3 separate regions of the Homo sapiens genome follow, and regions 1 and 2 are each linked to region 3. Evidence: promoter capture Hi-C in 16 types of primary human blood cells and fetal thymus (Javierre and others, 2016). All regions are on one chromosome and are shown on one strand. The core of a region is centred on a gene start or on the middle of the fragment in contact, and the rest is flanking DNA. Distances in the headings are between cores, read along the strand shown.

The links. Contacts are between HindIII fragments. The CHiCAGO score rates a contact against its expected background, and 5 or more counts as called.
Region 1: a contact is called between a fragment that was not itself captured here and the fragment with the promoter of ADD2 in region 3, in 4 of 17 cell types (M2 macrophages, M0 macrophages, M1 macrophages and 1 more). The highest score is 8.9, in M2 macrophages.
Region 2: a contact is called between the fragment with the promoter of TEX261 here and the fragment with the promoter of ADD2 in region 3, in 3 of 17 cell types (monocytes, erythroblasts and M0 macrophages). The highest score is 6.5, in monocytes.

The regions. Positions count from the first base shown.
Region 1 is chr2:70,923,133-70,925,832 of GRCh38, forward strand. The region is part of intron 2 of VAX2 (ventral anterior homeobox 2); the gene reads left to right. Among named protein-coding and RNA genes, the nearest start is that of ATP6V1B1, 11 kb to the right of the region's middle. The HindIII fragment of the contact is 8,926 bases long and covers 1-2,700 here.
Region 2 is chr2:70,993,577-70,996,276 of GRCh38, forward strand. It overlaps TEX261 (testis expressed 261), which reads right to left and starts at 1,297. Exons shown (of 6, transcript NM_144582.3): 1 at 1,112-1,297; 2 at 120-199. The coding sequence starts at 1,181. RefSeq lists silencers at 869-958, 989-1,518 and an enhancer at 2,059-2,108. The HindIII fragment of the contact is 23,402 bases long and covers 1-2,700 here.
Region 3 is chr2:70,766,926-70,769,625 of GRCh38, forward strand. ADD2 (adducin 2) reads right to left here and starts at 1,275. Exons shown (of 16, transcript NM_001617.4): 1 at 961-1,275. RefSeq lists enhancers at 410-975, 976-1,541, 1,951-2,515. The HindIII fragment of the contact is 9,920 bases long and covers 1-2,700 here.

The DNA.
Region 1 (2,700 bases), core at 173-2,672, 160 kb after region 3:
TGCTTCACAAGGAGCCCAGAACACAGCTGGACACATAGTAGGCCCTCAGCAAGTCCTCCGCACTGTTCTCACTACAACCCTCCTTCCTCTGTCCCCAGTCCTAGGGTTGACAGATAGTAAAAGTAATGGACAGCTGATGCTTATTGAGCGCTTCCCATGCACCAGGTCCTGTTCCAAGGGTGTGACATAGTCTAACTAGTTTAGTCCTCACCACAACCTTATGGGATACGTGTGAGATTTTTCTTCCAACACCAGGTGTATGGTATGTTCCAACCACCAGCAGGCAGTGCTCCAATTCTCCAGCATCACTGAGTATATTCAACAGTTCAATACTGACACTAATTCCCAGAGCTAGCACAGACCCTACAAGTTAAGGGCTCTGTCCCACAAGACAGTGCCACAGCAGACTCAAGTTCCAGGAGCCACCTGTGCTTCTGAATGGACTGGCCTAAAACCGGGGGCTCCCACATCGCCCTCTGCAGGTTTGACAATTCACTAGAATGACGCACACAACTCAGGAAACACCTCCCCTACACTTGCTGGTTTATTATAAATGACACGAGTGAGGAAGAGCCAGATGGAAGAGACACAAAGGGCAAGGTAAGGGGGAGGTGCGTGGAGCTCCCATGCCGTTTCCAGTGCCCCCATTCCCAGCACTTCCACGTGTTCGCCAACCAGAAGTTCTCCTGGTCTCCTTGTTCAAGACTAAATCCAGGCCGGCCTGGCACAGTGGCTCACGCCTGCAATCCCAGCACTTTGGGAGGCCAAGGAGGGAGGATTGCTCAGGAGTCCAGGAGTTCAAGACCAGCCTTGGCAGCAGAGGGAGACCTTATCTCTAAAAAAAGTTTTTTAAAACATTTTTTACAGTTTACACTGTAAACTGCAGGGTGTGGTGGCACACACCTGTAGTCCCAGCTACTTGGGAGGCTGAGGTGGGAGGATTGTTTGAGCCCAGGAGGTCAAGGCTACAGTGAGCCATGTTAGCTTCACTGCACTCCAGCCTGGATGACAGAGCAAGACTCTATCTCAAAAACAAACAAAAAAAGACTATAATCCAATCTCCATTCCCCTCCCCTCCCTAGAAGGAAAGAATGGGGGCGGCTGAAAGTTTCTACCCTCTAATCACAAGTATGGTCTTTCTAGAACCAGCCCCAGTCCTGAAACTACCTAGAGATCCACCCTGAATCACCTCATTAGCATACAACAGTAAGTCTTATTTATTTATTTATTTATTTATGTTTACTGTAGAGACGGGGTCTCGCTTTGTTTCCTAGGCTGGCCTGGAACTCCTGGTCTCAAGTAATCCTCCCTCCTCGGCCTTCCAAAGTGCTGGGATTATAGGTGTGAGCCACCATGCCCAGCCAATAAGAGTATATTGTTTCCACTTTAAATAGAAGGAAACTGAGGCATAGAAAAGTTAAATAGATAACTTGCTCAAGACTTGCAGCGGGTGCATTCATGGGTAATAGTACCCATGAAGATGGCTTTATGGGTACTATTATCCCCATTTAAGCAAACTGAGCCTCAGAGAGGTTAACTAACTTGTAGCTAGAATTCTGTGGCATTCTCAGTATGTTCACCCATAATTTTGTTCAAAAATATTATTGAATACCTACTATATAGCAGGTACTCTTCTAGGCACTTGGGCTTTGGCTTAGAACAAAACAGACCAGGCATCTGCCCTCGTGCAGCTAAGATCCACAGAGACAAAGACAAACCGCATTTCCAGGAGTGATGAGTGTTGTGAGGGAGCTCAAATGGGGTCATAGGAGAGAGACTAAAAGGAAGTGTTTTACTGGGGTGTTCAGGGAAGGCCTCTTTGAGAAGATGACGTTGAGCTTAGGCCTGAGTGGCAAGGGAGAAACAGCCAGATGAGGAGCCAGAAGGAGACGTCAAGGCAGACGGTAACTATGAAGACGTGAGGGGCAGGAATTGGCATAGAATGTTCTAGAAGTATCAGAAGGCCAGAGTGGCTGGAGCTACAGGGTAATTGGGTAAGTAGGTAGGGGAGGATCATGCGATGCTTAGAGACTATGGTAATACATTGAAGAGAAAGTGACAGGAGATGATTGGCATTTTACAGAGGTTCTCTGGCTGCCACTTGGGGAAGGGACCCACAGGGGAAAGGAGTGGACAGGTGTGGACAGGTAGGAACTACTGACATGGGTCCTGAACAGAGCAGTGGTGGAGGAGAGAAGCGTACTAATGTGAGAGGCACTCTAATTTAGTGCTGGAACATATTAGGACTTGCTCATGGATTATACGCCCAGGGCAAGGGAAAGGAAGTGGTTTGGGTAGAACAACTGGGAGAATGGTGACACCATATAATGAGTTGAGAAACTGGGGGAGAAGCAAGATGGTGGGAGCATAATCAAGAATTTTGTTTTGGATCAGTTAAGTTTGAGATCCCAGCGGAGATGTCAAGAAAGCATGTCAGATTTTGGGGGGAGGGCTGGTTTTTCTCTGGTTTAAGTTATCTGAGAGTCTCTGTCAGAGCTCTTTTGGGGGAAAAGATAAGAAATTCCTTCAAGTGCCCTCAGATAATGGATGGACTCCCCAGGGATTAAAAACAGAAGCCATAGCCTTGTTGAAATTCAATAACAGGAACCATGGTGTAGCCAGGAATTGGAAGAGACTGGAAGCCAAAGGCTCTTTTGGGCCCGAGGGATTCAGCACCAGCTACTCACAGAACTTCCTCCC
Region 2 (2,700 bases), core at 47-2,546, 230 kb after region 3:
GTATGCTCAGGAAACAGCAGAGACACAGGCCTCATCATCCATGCCAAACTCTCCCCACTTCCTGCTTTTGAGGCAGGGCAAAAGAGTGAGGAGGACTCCTGGAGAAAGATGCCACTTACCCAGATCATGTATTTTATGATCCTGCTGGTGGCCACTGTGTATTCTTCTATCAGTTCTGCCAGGTAATAGAGTCCAGCCGCTGCAGGGTGGGAGGCAGGGAGACTATCAGCCAGGGTCACTCCCACCATCCTGGTCACCCCTCTCTCTGCAGCCCAGTCCCCATCCACCCTTCATGGACCCCAGAAGGTCAAGAACAAACCAAACATCCCATGTGTTGCCCTTCCAAGTCTGGAGAAGTAAAACTTTCTTAGGGCAACTAAGGACAAATCTCATAAAAATCAACGAAAGTCTGCATTTGATGCCACAGTACAATGATAACCTCTGGCTCAGAAAACGGAATTTCACGTATTCAATAAACACCTGCTGGGCACTTGGCATGAGCCAGGTCCCTGGGCTGAGAATACAGCTGAAAAAGACAGACAAGGGTCCTTCCCTGACCCAGCTTGGGAAAGGGAAGGGGAACAGTAGGGAGAGACAGACGAGTTTAGTGTGAGAAATGCTACTTTAGGGAAAGGACAGGGCACTGCTGGACCATCAACCCCTGTGGACTTCCCGGAAAAGATGACATCTCAACTGAGGCCGAATGGGAACCAGCCAGAGGAGAAGTGTCAAAGGTGGAGAGAGCAGGGAGCATGAAGGGCCAGAGGCGCAAAGGCGGCGGTAGGCGTTGGGGAAAAGTTCCGCGCGGCAGGCCCGCGAAGAGTGGGAGCCGCAGCGGTTAGCGGTCCGCAGACGCGGGGGCGGCACTCGAGTCACCCTTTCTCGGGCAGTGCCGGAGCGGACTCTGTGACACCTGGAAGGAGCCACGGTCAGGCCGGGCTGCCAGGCTCGACAGGAGGGGCAGGATCAGGCGGGAAGGGGTTGGGGCGGCGAAGGCCGGGAGCGCCGGGCAGTGGTCCCCCGAGTGGCTCCGAAACCCCCGCGATGCGACCCCCAACGAGCACCGATGCCGGGGCGGGAGCCCGCGCGGGCCGGGGTCGTGCAGTCTCACCGACAGCCAGCGTGATGAAGGCCACCTGGATGAAGAGCGACAGCCAGCTCAGCAGGTACATGAACCACATGGCGCCCCCACCCGCCCGCTCCCCGGCCACCGGGACGGGCCTGCGCGCTTCGGCTCCGGCGACACACAGCCGCCACCGCCGCCGCCGCCGCCGCGTCCCCGCCCCGCGGACGACAGGACGACGGTGCGCCGCCGCCGAGAGGAGCCCGGCCCTAGCGCTGCCCGGGGCCAGGCTCGCGCTAGCGCCGCCCGCCGGAGAGGAGGGCCAACCGCCGCTGCCCCGCCAGGATCCCCCGCTCCACTGAGGGGAATGAATGCAGACCGCTGCAGCCAGAGGGAGGCGGGACGGTGCCCAGGGGCGGAGACGACCAAGCGCCCATACTGGGGCTCGGAGTGCAGCCTCCAGTCCCTCCCTGTGCACTCCCGTACCAGCCTGGAGGTGGTCCAGGGCCGGACAGGGCCGCCCGACCGCGCCCCAGCAACCTCCCCAGAACCTGCCTCCCGGCAGGTTGCGGACAAGTCTGTCTCTTGCTATCGCAGGTGATAGGGACAAAATTATTGAATTCCTAATATGTGCCACGCTCTGTGATAAAGGCGAGGTGTGTTCTTGTCGGAAATTTGAGCAGATAATGTAAATCATTTTATAGACGGGGAAGCCGGGGCCAAAGGAAGTTGCCCTGGGTCATGCACCTAGGAAGCGGCACAATCAGGAGTTGGGGTGATTTTAATCGGTCATCCTCCGGCCTAATTCCCCTCTAGGCTGTTCTTTTGGGGTACATTCTGCACCTTTGTATCGCCTGCACCTCACCCCTTGCCGGGCACGCAGGGCGTCCGCTAGGCGCTGGATGCATTTACTACACCTCTGGGAGGGTTCCTGAGGGGCACCTGGAACCGGTTAGTCCTTGTCAACAAGTCTCCCATCTAGTGGCGGAGACAGGCATGCAAAATAAAGTATGTAGAACAAGAGTCTAGTAGGCTTATTTCAGAATCATATTTTTCCTGCATAAAAATACGTATTCCTAAAAAAAACAATTACCGTATGATTTAGCAATTCTACTTCTGGGTATATACCCAAAAGAACTGAGAAAGCAGAGACATTTGTATACCAATATTCATAGCATTATTCACAATGGTCAGAAGAGGGAAGCAACCCAAATGTCCATCGGTTGACGAAAAGATAGACATAAAGTGCTATAAACATACAATGGAATATTATCTAGCCTTAAAATGAAGTGAAATTCTGACACATGCTACAACATCAATGAACCTTGAAGGCATGATGCTAAGTGAAATAAGCCAAATAGGGAAGGACACACATTGTATGATTCCCCTCATATGAGGTACCCAGAGTAGTCAAAATCATGGGCAGAAAGTTAAATGGTGCTTGCCAGGGTCTGGGGGACAAAGAATGGGGAGTTACTTTTTAATGGATACAGGGTTTCAGTTTGGGAAGATGGATGGTGCTGATGGCATCACAACAGTGTGAATGTGCTTAATGTCACTGAATTGTATACAGTGTTACAGAATTGTAAAATGGTTAAAACGGTCAATTTTATGTTATGCATAGCTTCCCCCTCCCC
Region 3 (2,700 bases), core at 25-2,524:
GTGTGGGCTGGAGCTTGCTTTTTTATTTTCTATTTCTATTTCCTATTTTCTATTTTTAGTTTTGGGCAAGAGATGGAGATTAGGGGTGAGAAAAGGAAGGAAGAGAAAAGGCAAGACAATAGGCCAGACCCGAGAGCCTGATCTGCATCCTAAAGCAGTCTGCCCCTCCCTCCCTTCCCCCCAACACCAGGTAGGCTGTGGTGTGATTTAAAAATAAGCAGACACCGACTCCCGCCTCCGGGACCGGGGATGGCCTCCGCCCCGGCTGCAGAAAGGGAGGGGAGGCAGGGAGAGGAGAGGGAAGATGGAAGAAACAGACTGGCAAGACCCCCTCGGGTACAGTGGGATTTTTCCCTCCAAAGTGGTGGAGCCGCATAAAATCAAAACCCACGAGGCCCGCTCACGTGCCGGTTGCCCCGATCTCAATGTAGGCGGCTGCCGACGCCGCACCTGCTCGGCCGGCCACTGCGGCTGAGCGCCGCGCAGCCAGCGATCGCGAGGCCCCGGGGGACGCGCCCAGCCCCGCCAAGCCCGCCTCGCACCGCTACCCCGGAGGGCGGCGGCCGAGCGGGAAGGAAAGAGAGGGGAGGGGAGGGAGGGGAGGGGAGGAGCGGCCCCGCCCGGCTAGGCGAGGCGAGGCTTGCCGCCCCTCCATTCGGACCCAAAAGAAAGCCCCACCTGTCAGGCGTTACGCTCCGGGCGAGGGTCCCACCATCCCCAAGCAGGGGCCAGTGCTTGCAGCCCCGATTTCCTAAGAGCCTCGGATGCTACATCATCACCAGAAACCTTTAGGCGCAAAACACACCGCTGCCGGCCAGGGCTGCAGCACCGACGCGCTCGGCAACAGACGCGCCCCACCTGGGCCAAGCGGCTCCCGCCCGGCCGAGGGATGCCAGGGTCTCCGCGCCAGGAGACCAGCGACCCCAGGCAGCCCACCAGGCCCGCTCCCCAGACCCTTACCTCCTGCGCGGCATCTTAGCTATCTCCGGTCGGCCACTGCGGGTTGGTTTTGTTATTTTATGGGTTTGGGGGGTGGGGTGCGCTTAAAAAATCCACCCAGCTAATCTGCAGGGCAGCGTTTTCTGCCCATGCTGCAGCCCGCGCTCGTCAGAGCTGCTGGGAGATCCCCCAGCAGTGCAGCGGCTCCGCGGCGGCGGGGATGACTGGCCACCGACGCCGCAGTTCCTTGACAAAAGGCTCGGGTTCCCGCTAGTCCCTCACAGCCCTGCCGTCAGAATTAAAGCCATTTCCCGCACGAGGCTGGGAGGAAATGAGAGCTCTCCTGGCCCTGCGCGCTGACAAAAGGCCGCTGCGCGGTGCCCACAGCGCCCCCTCCAGCAGGCCGCGCCGGCCGCCCGAGGGCCGCGGTGCTGCAGTGCCCCCGCCCGCAGCGCCCCCCACCGCCCCGCAGCGGCCTCGCCCCGCAGCACCCCCACTACCGCCCCGCAGCGCCCCCCTCCTCCCCGCAGCGCCCCCGCCCGCGCCGCCGCAGACCCCCCTAGCCAGGCTTCCAGCCCCCTTCCACCCCCGCCCCGCACCACTCACTACCCGGGATGGCCAGAGCTAAGCAGGGGAGTCTGTTACTAGGGAGAAAATCTGAAACAGAGCTCCCTTGGGGGAATGTATTCTCCCTGGAAGGAAGAAAGCAAAAGTCTTAGACTTGGAATATTTCTTTTCGTCTGGAAAGGACAGCTAGCCTTCGGAAGATAATTCTATTAGTGATTTTAATAGCAATTGTTTGACTGAATTCCAAACCAAAATTCTCCCTGTCCTGATTCTCACTCCTTTTCAACCAGGACAACATTTTTGTTGTGGCCCTGCCCTTGGGGGCTGTGGACCCAACGCTCTCCAACTCTCACTACATTCTCCTCTCACTCCTTTCCTTCCTCAGGTCTCCCGCCCCAGAAGGAACAGGTGTGTAGTGAGTGGGGAACTGGATAGGGAACCAGAATACTTCGGTTGCCGTCTCAGAGCTGCTCTTAACTAGCTGTGAGACCTTAATCAACCCACTTAACCTCTCTGGGCCTCGTTGTCTTCCTCTGTAAAATGACAGTGTACCTAAGGCACCTCCCATTTCCAATACTTTCAAGGCCTGGCCCTCAGAGAGTAGGGGTGTTAAGAGATAGCTCTGGACTTTTCACCCCCATAATCTCCACCAGTCCCCAAAACTCCCCTCAATCAACATCCTCTCCAAGGGCTTTTGAAAATGTGCTTGTGAAAATGTACAGCTTCCAGAAAAGCCTCTGGCCACTGATCTGAAACCTGATCATGGCCCCTCTGCCCTTCCAGGTTCTGGGGCACCACAGCCCTCAGACACCCCCACAAAAGTCACTGGCCCCCACCACAGTGCTGCTGTGGAACCAGAATCTCTGGAGGTAGGCTCAGGATTGGTAATTTTAACAAGCAGCCCTAGTGATTCCTTTGCACACTAACACTTTAGAAACACCACTCTGAGAGCTACTACTGATTTAGAAAAGAAAATGCTAACGACAACCCTAGATGCCAGGATAAACTTGTCTTTCTGCTTCAGCCCCCCTTCCAAGAAACATACATGCATACCTGGTCCCTGCACCCTCCTTCCACACTCAGAGCTTCTCACTCATTCTCATTCAGAATCACCGAGTCCACAAGACTTCTCCCCATTCTCCTGTCAAAACCTGCTAGAAGAATTACAACAGGCTCAGCCACACAAGATGAAAC